4 separate regions of the Homo sapiens genome follow, and regions 1, 3 and 4 are each linked to region 2. Evidence: promoter capture Hi-C in 16 types of primary human blood cells and fetal thymus (Javierre and others, 2016). All regions are on one chromosome and are shown on one strand. Each heading gives the region's core, a stretch centred on a gene start or on the middle of the fragment in contact. The rest is flanking DNA. Distances are from core to core; before and after follow the strand shown. Region 1 overlaps HECW2 (HECT, C2 and WW domain containing E3 ubiquitin protein ligase 2). Region 2 holds the start of LINC01827 (long intergenic non-protein coding RNA 1827). Region 3 overlaps STK17B (serine/threonine kinase 17b). Region 4 overlaps HECW2 (HECT, C2 and WW domain containing E3 ubiquitin protein ligase 2).

Evidence for each region. The method cuts DNA at HindIII sites, captures the fragments that hold promoters and counts their contacts. A CHiCAGO score of 5 or more calls a contact.
Region 1: a contact is called between a fragment that was not itself captured here and the fragment with the promoter of LINC01827 in region 2, in 1 of 17 cell types (non-activated CD4 T cells). The highest score is 5.8, in non-activated CD4 T cells.
Region 3: a fragment that was not itself captured here is called in contact with the fragment with the promoter of LINC01827 in region 2 in 2 of 17 cell types (non-activated CD4 T cells and M2 macrophages); the score reaches 6.1 in non-activated CD4 T cells.
Region 4: a contact is called between a fragment that was not itself captured here and the fragment with the promoter of LINC01827 in region 2, in 1 of 17 cell types (non-activated CD4 T cells). The highest score is 5.6, in non-activated CD4 T cells.

The regions. Positions count from the first base shown.
Region 1 is chr2:196,208,724-196,211,750 of GRCh38, reverse strand. The region is part of intron 28 of HECW2 (HECT, C2 and WW domain containing E3 ubiquitin protein ligase 2); the gene reads left to right. Among named protein-coding and RNA genes, the nearest start is that of STK17B, 39 kb to the right of the region's middle. RefSeq lists an enhancer at 1-25. The HindIII fragment of the contact is 9,346 bases long and covers 1-3,027 here.
Region 2 is chr2:195,573,171-195,576,535 of GRCh38, reverse strand. LINC01827 (long intergenic non-protein coding RNA 1827) reads left to right here and starts at 2,043. Exons shown (of 2, transcript NR_187191.1): 1 at 2,043-2,212. The HindIII fragment of the contact is 2,770 bases long and covers 416-3,185 here.
Region 3 is chr2:196,164,090-196,167,468 of GRCh38, reverse strand. All of the region lies in intron 1 of STK17B (serine/threonine kinase 17b), which reads left to right. Among named protein-coding and RNA genes, the nearest start is that of STK17B, 5.8 kb to the left of the region's middle. RefSeq lists an enhancer at 239-308. The HindIII fragment of the contact is 905 bases long and covers 886-1,790 here.
Region 4 is chr2:196,192,643-196,195,638 of GRCh38, reverse strand. It overlaps HECW2 (HECT, C2 and WW domain containing E3 ubiquitin protein ligase 2), which reads left to right. Exons shown (of 29, transcript NM_001348768.2): 29 at 1-1,567. Among named protein-coding and RNA genes, the nearest start is that of STK17B, 23 kb to the right of the region's middle. The HindIII fragment of the contact is 1,437 bases long and covers 868-2,304 here.

The sequences.
Region 1 (3,027 bases), core at 359-2,858, 640 kb before region 2:
CAACCGGAGCAATGAGGGAGAGAATCTTAGTCTTTCTAGACAAGGATGATGGAGGGCCTTTCAATTTTCAAGCAGGCAAATGTGAGTCTCATTCTTTTCTCAGATTTCCTAGTCTCACTTTGCGGTAGCAGTGGATAGCGCTGCTCACAGTATGAGTCAAGGAGTATATAAAAGTATATATGGTTGTCTCTGCAGCCAGTGCAAGTTGAATCCATGGCTCTTTTTTCCTCTTGTGGTTATGAAGTGACTAGAGACCCAGATGATAAATAAGGATGTAGACAGAAGGGTGTCTCCATGGAGACCTACAGCCTGAGCACATGACTGCACTTCCTCTGCTTCGCGGTCGGTGGTTAGCTCTGTATTTTGCATTTCTGTGGAAGACTTCATACCCCTGGTGCTCTGATGGACTTTATGAAAAGAGAGTACATTCACTTTGTGGCAATTGCTCTCAAACAGTCCAAAAAATGCGCTGCTAAGATGCCAGCCTGAAAACTGCAGAGCAGTCCTGTCTCCCACCATGGTGTGAGTTTCTGTGTTCATCCCCCAGGTTCTTGCCAAGTTGGGTGATGGGACGGAGGACCTGAGAGCTGCAATCGTCATGGGGGTGTGTTGGTTATTGCCAAAGGGAAAAGCGTTAATTTTTGAAAATGGCTGTGTCTGGAGATTATTATGAATGAAATGCTAACTGAAATTAAGAAATAAATTGTAAGAGTTAATTATGAAATAGATGTCTTATGGAGACAGTTAATCTAATGGAATAGAACTTTAAAAGATAAAATTATTTTTTAAAAACATAACAACTTTTTGTTTTTAAAATTCTGCTTTTTGGCAGAGTGCAGTGGCTCACACCTGAAATCCCAGCACTTTGGGAGTCCAAGGCAGGCAGATCACTTGAGGTCAGGAGTTTGAGACCACCCTGGCCAATATGGTGAAACCCCCATCTCTACTTAAAAAAAAAAAAATACAAAAATTAGCCAGGCATGGTGGTGTGCACCTGTAATCCCAGCTACTCGGGAGGCTGAGGCAGAAGAATCACTTGAACCCAGGAGGTGGAGGTTGCAGTGAGCCAAGATCATGCCACTGCACTCCAGCCTGGGTGACAGAGTGAGACTCCATCTCAAAAGAAAAAAAAATCTGCTTTTTATTCTAATTTATAAAAAGAAAATTTTACAAAAAATTGCTAAGAAATATATGTATATATTAAATATATATTAAAATACCTACATATGTATCAATCCAATGTCCACCCAATGTCCACTACTAGCTGGTCATGGTGGTGCATGCTTGGAGTCCCAGGTACTTGGGAGGCTAAGGCTTGAGCATGGGAGTTTGAGTCAAACCTGAGCAACATAGAGAGATACCATTTCTGAAGGAAAAAAAAGTCAATTACTAAGATAAGCTCTGTTAACATGTTAGAGTATGTGATTTCACTCATTTCTTCAGGTACACACAGGCACACAGACACACACATACACACACACACACATTTTAAAACAACATTCCGTTTATCACATGGAACATCTTTCCATGTCATTAAATATTGCTCTGTAATGTTATCAATAATTCAGTTTTCCCTCCTCCATTATAGGGAGCATTGTCTACTGTCAAAGTGAATTATCAGCCAGTATACCGGAAAATAACCAAGTCCTGAAATACAATGTCACTTTCCTCAATTAAAAGAAAAACCAGGCTGGGCACAGTGGCTCACGCCTGTAATCCCAGCACTTTGGGAGGCCAAGGTGGGCAGATCACGAGGTCAGGAGATGGAGACCATCCTGGCTAACATGGTGAAACCCCGTCTCTACTAAAAATACAAAAAGTTGGCCGGGCGTGGTGGTGGGCGCCTGTAGCCCCATCTACTCGGGAGGCAGAGGCAGGAGAATGGCGGGAGCCCGGGAGGCGGAGCTTGCAGTGAGCCGAGATCGCACCACTGCGCTCCAGCCTGGGCGACAGAGCCAGACTCCGTCTCAAAAAAAAAAAAAAAAGAAAGAAAGAAAGAAAAACCATCAGAACAAGAGATGAGTACTAGAAGGACCCTTTGGGGCCATCTCCTTTCTATATTTGCCCTGAGGTGTCCCTCGTTGGTCTTCCTAATTCCCTACCGCCTGCTGATGAGCTGATGTGGCTTTTCGTGTGGGAGAGAATTGACAGGAGATTCTCATACAGTGGTCTGCTCTGTAGTTGAACCTCAGGTCCAAGACTCTCTTCAACTCCTTTCCCCTCTGCCCTCTCACTCAGTTCTATATAACTGTATTTTAAATTTTCACTTTATTCTGCCATTGAATCTGCATGTACTAACAAAAACATGCCAGAGTTAACCCATCACATCACCATATTAAAGATTCTTAAATGTCATATACCTTTTGGATTGGTCTTTACTTTGGGAGGTGGGTAAATTTATCATAAAAACAGATTGTATTAAAAAAAGGGACTCTTCTGTAATTAATGTAAAACGTCAAGCTATTGAAAGAATTTGTGACTTTAATGGAATGAGATAATCATTCCACTTGCATTCCATCAGCATTGTTGCTGCTGACAACAGAGGACAGGATAGTCCAAGTCAAATCTACTAAAGGTCCTTGAGAGCTATTTCACAAGTCAGATTTTAAAGTGTCTATTTGTGAGTGACAGACATTGCAACAGTTAAAGAATGCTTACCCACTTTTCCTTGGCCTCAAGAGCAAAAACCAGTTTGGGCTCATTTCTTTCCACCAGCCTAGTCCATGACACCATCCCCCCTCACCTGGACTACTGCAGTAGACTGCTGGCTAAATCCCCTGCTTCTCCTGCATCCCACCATTCATTCATTCTGCACTCAACAACCACTGGGATCTGCAAACATCTCAAGGTCACCTCCCTCCCTTGCCTACACCCTCTGGTGGCTTAGAATAAAATCCAGACTCCTTCCCAAGGACTTCCTGTGGGGCCCTGGTCTGCCTCCTCCTGCAACCTCAACATGTACCCTCTCCCCCAACCCATGACACCTACCAGCCTCCTTCTGTGTATTCCTCAAATATGCCAAACTCA
Region 2 (3,365 bases), core at 794-3,293:
TTAAGACTGATAATTATTGGGTTCATGTACTAGGAAGTTATACTAAGAAAAAGACTCTCAAAGAAGACACAAATTTTACAAAGCCATACTCATAAAACATATAAAGATGATGACATATCCAGGATCAGATTTAGATCCTCTAGATCCATCCCAAAGAAGAAAATACCAAAAAATAGCCCAAGCTGTAACTTTACCAATTTAGTTACTGCTGTCAAGAAACATTGCACAATGCCATCTAGTGACGAGTAACCAATGTATGATTAATCACATAGAAATGACTGGATGAGGAGGGGGAAATTCCCAGGATTTTATATGTAAGAGGGAAAGTCCTTCTGAGAGAATTAAAATGGATAGAGATTAGTTTTATTTCTCCAGGTACACTTAGTGCATGACAATTTATCACCGATCTGAAGCTTGGTAGTTTTTATTTTGAAATACTGTATTGCCACCTACCTCTGAATCTGCAGCTCTACCTCCTTCTGCAGCTGCCCTTCATTATTCCGTCCACAGCTGAACTCAGAACTGTGAGTGTTCTCCAAGCCGCAGCCCCCCATCTAATGACAGGTGGTGGAGGTGGAGCACTTTAGAAACCAGTCTCAACAAATTAAAAAAAAAAAAGGACTTCAAAAAAGGGAACCAAGTTGATTCTTAAAACAATCTGTGCCACATTAAAAATAATAACAATAAATAAACTTGGAAGTTCAAAGAGTAAAACTAAAACAGGGACTAAAGGAAATCATCTTTGTTTTTTGCAGCCAATGACTGTGCAGACCTGATGCTGTCTTGTTCTTGTACCAAATTCTCCTTGAAAATACCAGAGACCTCTCTCTGAATGGCCATAACATTATACCCTAAGGGAAATAATTTTCTCCAACATTTCTCATCTTTTGTAAACAGATGGCATATATATATTTAATATATATATTTATAGATATATTTATAGATATTTATATATATTTATAGATATATTTATATATATATTTAAAGAGAAAGAGAAATACCAACAGTCTGCCAACTGTGGAATTCTTATAGTCCGATAGTTTCTTTTTGGTTATTTTTTCACAACTAAATTAACTAGTGTTGCTGCCATAGATACATTTAAGAAAATCAGACACTTTGCTGCTTTTACATATATCTGTCTGAAACTCAGCAGGAATATTTCAGTTGCCTTAGAAAAATATCCAGTTAACAAACTTTGTGAAGTGAAAAGAAAACCTTATCAAAATCTCCAGCTTCAAGTACATTTAGTTGTTTTCTTTTTATTGTTGCTTACATGCTGTGATTGGAGCACAATATGTGGAAATTGCATAACCATTATTTCCACAAATCAAAGCTATTGAGACATGGGAAGGCCATGTGGAGCTGCTGCATGAAATGTTGGTTAAAAAAATTCCACTCTGCCTTTATATCTAAAGTCTTCCCTTCTTTCAGGTATCAATGGTTTCTTCAGTCGTAAGCATCACTAGGTTGTGTTTCGTTTGTTTAACTGCTTTTAAAATCAGAATTAGCCATAGGTCAAATAACATTTTTTGAAAAACATTTTCTCTATGTGTCTTATATTTTTCCTTAGTTCTACTTTGTTTTGTTATTTTTAATATTTTGGGGGTAATCTAGGCAAAGAGCTCTTAATTCTTAATGCATTAGAACCATCAAGAAACATTCAGTGCAATTTCCATGTCTCAGGGGAAAGTTTTGGTGTCCTCACCTCGATCCATTCCCAGGTTTATGGGGACTAGGGAGAATCCTTTCACTATTATTTTACATTTTAAAATATACCTAATCAAGTGCAGTGCAGTGCAGTGGTGTATGCCTGTGGTCCCAGCTGCTCGGGAAGCTCAGGAGAGAGCATCACTGGAACCCAGGAGTTTCAGTCCAGCCTGGGCAACACAGCAAGATCCCATCTCTAAAAAAAGAAAAGAAAGAAAAGAAAACAGTGGCCAGTCAGATGGCTATGTAGGTCAAAGACAGCCTGACTGAATCATATGAGAGGGAAGAAAAACACTTGTCATTCCTAGCTTTCTGTGTTCCTCTTTTGTTCCAGCAGAGCTTTGGTTGTACTACTCTAATACCCATACAACACTGCTTTCCTTAGAGCCACAGCTACTGCTGAGAACTCAAAAACTTCTTCCTTTCCGGTGAACACGTCTAGACTTGGGCTGGGGATGGGATGAAGATCTCTAACACCTTCCTGGAAATCAAGAAGTGCAAATAGGTAATTTTCCCTTTTTTTTTTTGAGATGGAGTCTCACTCTGTCGCCCAGGCTGGAGTGCAGTGGTGCAATCCGGCTCACTGCAATTCTCCCTGCTTCAGCCTCCTGAGTAGCTGGGATTACAGGTGCCCGCCACCACACCCAGCTATTTTTTTTAGTTTTAGTAGAGACGGGGTTTCACCGCATTGGGCAGGCTGGTCTCGAACCCCTCACCTCAGGTAGATCCGCCTGCCTCGTCCTCCCAAAGTGCTGAGATTACAGGTGTGAGCCACCGTGCCCAGCCTGGTAATTTTCTTAAGAGAGAAATAATGCTTTGTTTTGAGATGTTCTGCTGGGGTATTCTGGTAGCTCTTTCAGTGCTTAAACTCATTCCGAGTCTGCACAAATGGCATAATATTTAGCTGTGCTTTGACACTCTTCAGCACCTGGAATATAATGAGCATAAATATCTTTTTAGGTTTCTAGATCAAAGATTGTTTTCTTCTATAATGTTTCTCCTCAAAGAAGTGTTTCACTGTTCTGTAAAGTAAATTTCAGAGATTATAAGGCCAAAATAGCGATTATAGCAAAAGTCTATGATCAGTTACATTGTCTAATTTTGAATTACAGTGGCAGCTTTTCTTTTATCTTTAAATTTGGTGCCATTTCTTCCTATCATTTCCACCCCTGGGATTTTTCTGGTTAGAGATGTATATAATTGCCTTTCTGCCCACATTCCCTTCTAAAAGAATCTGTTCCCCTGCTGAACAGATGGGCCTAGTCATCTATGTTTATATCATATGACCCTACTCCCTGGTTATGATGATTGGACCAGGGTGGGGAGACCTACTCTGAGAGTCGATCCATAGGTTAGGCCAAGCCAACTAGATGATATTGTTTGAAAAAATTTCACTGAGACACAAAAGTCATAGTTAAGTGATGAGAATTGGAGTTGTCGGGTCACAGGTATTTAGTGTGAGACCTCTATGGCAAGCTTCAGCTACATGAACATTAAATTATGAGGGAACCCAAAGTAAAATCCTTACATGTGGAGCCAGCCTACAAGAGCAACCTAGAATAGACATGCAGAGAGAAGCAGTAGCAAGAGCTTACACTGACATTTGTAAAATCCCTTCTCACCATCCAGAGCCTTTTCTACTTTAAACAAACAGTATG
Region 3 (3,379 bases), core at 89-2,588, 590 kb before region 2:
TGTAAATTCAAGATGGATCTCAAGTTCTCCTAACCCCTCGAAGACATGAGATATACCTACAAATTCTTTTTTCTATATCTCATAATTCTTACAATTCAGTTCATCAAACATTTTTAAAATTCCTACCGGGTGGCAGATACCATGCTGGTTGCTTAGGCACAAAAGTAAAAGGATGCTGCCCTTTAAACACTGAACAGAATTGCAATCTAACATGTTACATTTTGAGGTAAAGAAGTATGCCAAGGATCCTCTTATTTGAAGCATAAAGGAGAAGCCTTTAAATCAGCCTGTGGTTTTTAGGCAAAGCTTCCTGGGGGAGAGGCCATTCTGTGTTGAGTTTTGAAGGATGTGTAAGAAGAGTTAGCCATTTAAGGAAAGTAGAAAGGCTTTTTCAGGCAAAGAAGTATAACAAAGATGTGGTGGCAAAATATGAAATATGAGTGCGGCAGGAAATGTAGCTGGTGTATACTTGGCCTCAGAGGCCTTTATGTGTCATGCTGTAAGTACTTGAAAGCTTGTAGATACTGGGGAGCTAATGAAGGAATCAAAACAGACAATTTGATTTTCTAAATGTCTTTATTATTGTATATTCTATTTTTTAAAAACTTTCTTATTTGATAATTTTGAAATAAATATCATGATAAATACTTTTTAAAATAGAGCTAGAGGTTTATAGAGATAGTCTTGCTTTTGTTCACATCACACTTGCTTTCTGCATTCAAGTAAGTGAAGGCCCAGATCAAGCCTAACATTTCCTTCTTTTCCTTCCTTCACTGATCTACTTCCAAATTCTTTTGGTAATTATTATAATGAGAATTAATGAAAAAAATCTTTAAAAATAAGTGAGATACCATTATTTGTAGTAGTACTGTGTGATTAAAAGCTTAATTGTGTCTTACCTTCTATTACACTTTTTATAGGATCTAATCGTGTATACACATGCATATAAATTTACTTACCAGGTCCCTTAAGATTTTTTTTAAATGCTATAACCTGATAAAATGTTATGAAATGAATTTCAAATGGAGTGAGACATATAGGTAATTTAGAATCGGTAATATGAAGTGTGGTAGAAGACAAGAAAAGGCCTGGGAATTGTTGGAGTTAAAGAGAATTTGGTGGGAAATTTAGGAAGATACAAGAAGGAGCGACAGAGAGCTGACTCATAACCTGCATGTACCTTATATGAAGGGCAACCAGATGTTTGAGGAGGGCTTGGTGGACAAAGGTGACATTCATGCTCCACTATATGCAAAACTGGCCAAAGGAGAGGAAATGGAAAAATATCTTGGCTCTGACAATTGGTTCAGATGCAGTAAATAAAAGGAAAATGAACTTAAGAAATGCTTAATGGATGCCTAAAGCAGCTTGTGATGTAGGTATATTTTTAATAAATAGATGAACTTATGAGGAAATTGGTACCCATATTGATCTTTCAGAACAATGGAAAAAAATCAGTGAAACTGAGCGCTATCAGAACTAAGAAGATACATAAGTAGTTAAAACAGAAAACAAAAATACTTTTAAGAATGAAGTTTAGACTAAGTTGGGATGAGAATTTTGTACATGGAAACAGTACAGCTGTTCAACAATGGCAGGGAACTGCAGGGAGAGTATTTTTGGGTAGAATGTTAATTTTGTTTTGTGGAACAATAGCGATATGCCCTTGTGACTTGCACTGTACCTGTGTCAGTGGACATGAGTTCAGCATATTTTAATTTTTAATCCTTGCAGCACTGGAAGATCAATTCTTTTATCATCCATACTTTAGAGGCAGCAAAATCGAAGCTTTCTTCACCAGTAAAAGGGAATGCGAAGTAAATCACAACAAAATTCCATTTCACCTTCATCACACTAGAATAGCCAAACTTAAAAGTCTGAATTGGGCAAGTATTGTCAAAGTAGTGATAAACCGTCCCATCCAGTGCTAGTGGGAGTGTAAACTGGGGGTGGAAAGAAGGGGCTATGTCTAATATGTTTTATTTTTAATTTAAATGAAATATGACCAAGTAATAAGATTGGAAAGTAAATGTTTGTATATAGTGTTCCTTATCTTACATTTGAAATATTATATATTTTGTTTTCTTTTTAAATAACTGTGTTGCCGCAGATCAGGCGACTTAACAGAAGTATATTTTCTCAACGATTCTGGAGGCTAGAAATCTGGGATCAGGGTGTCTGCGGGGTTGGTTTCTTCTGAGGCCTGCCCTCTTGGCTTGTAGATGGCTGCCTTCTCCTAGTGTGTTCACATAGTCTTTCCTCTGTGTGTGTCTGTGTCCTAATTGGCCCACTTTAATGACCTCATTTTAACTTAATCACCTTTTTAAAGGCCCTGTCTCCAAAGACAGTCACATTATGAGATACAGGGGTTAGGGTTTTTCAACTTAGGAATTTGGGGGAGGACACAATTCAGCCCATAACAATAGCAAAGTTAAATAATTTAATTAAGGTCTCATAGCTGGTATGATGGATGAATGGAATTCAGACCCAGGTGTCTTTCAGTCTAAAGGTTATTCTCAGAATGCTACACTACAACCCTTTGACTCCTAGAGATGTACCCCAAAACTAGTTAGAGCTGTTTCCCCAAAGACTAAGAGATGTAGAGAAAACAATTTTACTATCTAGTTATGTGAAAGCTATAATTTTAATTTAATTTTTTGAGACAAGGTCTCCATCTATCGCCCAGGCTGAACTGCAGTGACGCGTTCATAATTTGAGAATAACACCAAGAAGAGAAAATGTAGAAACTGAAAACGCTGAACTCTAATGACACTGCTTTTTGGCTAAGTAGACTATAGTTGGCATTTGAATTTAAGAAGATAAAGAACAGTACATATAAGTAGAAAATAGGAAAAAAAGATGTCAGAGGAGGAACAAATGCTTAGCGGGTTACTACAGGAGGGTGCTAAAAGAATAATAATTGATATTTTATTAAGTAGGCATAGCAATAAGTCATAAGTGTCTTGAAATATAGTATCTGTTATTGTTTTATGAATGCAATTAATATAATAGTTTTGATAACACTGAATGCATATAAACATCACAAATTTCCAGATACATATATGAGCTTCAGATACAGAACTTCGAAATAAAGCTTTATGTATAGGTTAGTCACTCTTCCAACAAAATTATTGAGCACTTCATACATAGCAGGCTCTGTGCTAGGTCCTGTCAAAGGAGGGACTCTTAAGACCTTTGAGAGTTTCTGAGTTTAGTACTGAAACATAGCCAATCCGTGGAAGAAGTTCTATTTCTTGTAGTCCTTCACGTCAGTAATATAACTCACAATATGTGCATTTACCACCAAATTTCTTTAGCCATGTGAAAATAAGTTTAAAATGAATAATTATTATCTTGTCGTATTAAATTACCTATTATG
Region 4 (2,996 bases), core at 337-2,836, 620 kb before region 2:
TTCTAAAGATAACTTAAATGCTCTCTGTTAATCTGGAAAGTGAAATCCTAAGAGTGAGGTTGCAAATGGAGACTAAATTAGTGTTTCCAAGTCAGGAAGTTAATCAAGACCGGAAATAGATTTGCTTAGATTTTATCTGCAGAGTCGTTTATTTGGCTTTCGTAATTGAACAGCTCAGCAGAATAAGATGGCCCTAGTTGTATGGTTTCTGGGGAACACAGGAGAATTAAATTTATATATGTGATTTTTATGTGTAGTGCCCTTGGGCAGGTGATATCTTTCTATATGACTTTTAAGATATTACAACCTGAGGAGTGTGGATAGCCGTGTTGTGTGATTCAAACTGAATCAGCTATTACTGATGCAGGTAAGGAACCATCAGTCAACTTCTGGTTACTATCACCTTCATAAAAAAGAATGGATGATGTTCAGGAATTACCTTGGAAGGATTAACCAGGAATTAACACAGAATGGGATGTTCTTTTAGGACCCTAATGCTCTAAAAGATAAAATTACAACCTATTTTTCTTTATATGATAGCATAAGTAAAATTTGGGGCTGTTAATATGTTGGAAAGTGCTTAAAATTACATGTTTTTATAATAGGGATGCAGGCATTCCAAAATAAATGAATAAAAATACATGCATCTCTCTCGCCTCTTACTGAAAGTATTAATCTAATTTTATAGTAATGATTACTTTTTAATATTAAGGCTCTGTAAAAAAATTATTTCTAAGATTTCAGTAGAACACAGGTGGTGTATTTTTTTAAGCTTTTAATTTCTCTTCACCAACCTCAGTCATTACGTTCACCACACAGTGTGTCACAGTTAATAGTGGTATTTCAGTTTTTGCGTTGATTTAAGCTTCATATTTATTTAATGTGACTTTTGATGGAGAATAATAATGGGAGATGCTTGCTGTTAGCATTAAGGTTATACAGCTCTCACTTCACCTTATATGTAATTTTTTTTTCAAAGTAAATAATGCAGATTGTTGACATCCTAGAAATGGTTTCTGGGTGGTATTATATGGGGCCTAGGACTCTGAACTGGGACTAGTTGTTTATTTTCTGGGAAGTCTGTATTCTTATTCTCAACTGAACCCCTGACTCTTTTGTTGTATTTTTTATGATTCCGAAATGCTTTGAGGGAAAGATATTTTAATGTGTACAATTTGTTTTATTTTCATACTGATCTCTATTTTTGTTTAAAACCATGTTGCATCATGAAATCACTTAATCCAAAATAAATCTTCTTTAAAAAAAATAGATTATGACTTTTCTGTAATACTTTTGGGGAGGGAAAACTCAGAAGGGAGGAGAATAGAAGTAGAGATAAAGATTTCATGGCATTAGTTTGCAGCTCTATAAATATTGGAGGTTCTGTTTTCATAGTATTTATAGTATTTTGTTTATTTTTATTTATATTTTTATTATTTATTAATAAAATATTTGTTTATTTTGTTTGGAATCTACTTTGTTTATCCCTACAAGAATATTTTACTGTTTGATGGGCTGTTAATGTTAAAGGAATGAATTATAATACAAATCATAATTTCTTAACTCACATGGGTTGAGACTATTTGTTAAGCCATCTTATTTGAATGTTTAATTTATAAACACATAGGCACACCACTGCCGCCGCCACCACTACCACGCACATCAATTTAATCTAGGGGTCGCGTGTGCATATGCCTACAGGGACCAGATAGGTATTTAACGAGTGAAATTGGCTAGGTGGAAGCAACACACAGTGGTAGGGCTTACATAAAGGGACATTCTAATATTTTGCTCCAGCAGATCCTAGCCACATGAAATTCCAGTCTAGTGTTAAAAGATCTAATATATCAAGGGAAACCCAGAAACCCAAATTTTTGTGTGATATTTCCAGATCTTTTTAGTAGTGGGTGGATCAAACCAAATATAGCTACACATTGATTTGCCCTGCAGGTCACCAGTTTGGAACCCTTGTTTTAATGGATAACATTATCTTTTATATTTAGTTGACTAGTGGTGTAAATTGGCCAGATAAGTAAAATGTTACTAAAACACGGCAGTTAATAAAAAGAGATGGGGAATATATATATAGCGCCATATATATATGTGTGTGTGTGTGTGTGTATATATATATATCTCTACACACTATGAGGGCAGTCAATCACTAAGGGGTGCCCTTAAAATGATCTGTATTTAGCAACTCATGTTAATTTATATGAATTAACTCGTGAAAACCAACTTGTGTTAATTCATATGAGTTAAGAGCAACCCTGTCAAGATTTCATGGAATACGTGTGCCATTAAGCTTCTTATTACATATTTTACACTAGAAATGAACTTCATATATCACATGACAGCATTTAAGCAGAAGATTCATCTCCTATCACCGACTGAAGTCTGACATTGTTATTGAAGGGGGAAGAGGGGGAAGAGCAAGATACTGATTCACAGCACTGACTTCTGGCTTTTGTGCCATGACATCCCTCTGTATCCTTGGACCTCAGTGTGTTTTTAGAATGATAAATATATCTGCCTTCGTAATTTCCTTTAATCCTGAACCCCATTTAATTAGTGAGAGTTTAGTAACAAATAATAATGAATAATTCCCACTATCCACCATCCCAGGAAGTCTTTCATACTGTTCTTTATTTCATACTTAAACCAGTTAAAGACATTCTGGTTTAAGTATGAAGTAAAGTTTAAGTATGAAGTTGAAGTCTCTTCATACTTTTCTCCTCCTTTTCTTGCTCAAAAATGTTGACCCATTAACTACTTTTTTTCCCCTTCTAAATAGATACCTCATTTGTCAGCCAAAGTTAACTTTGGAATCGCAAGAATAAAGAAATGAGAACATCTGATAAAGATATAATGTTTACCTTGATACACATGAGTTTCACACACTTTATTTGTCCTATTATTTTCAAATCCTTGTATGGATAGATGCTTCCAAAAGATGTTTAATCACTGGTGTTTCACTTAGAAAGGAAAAGCTAGGGGCC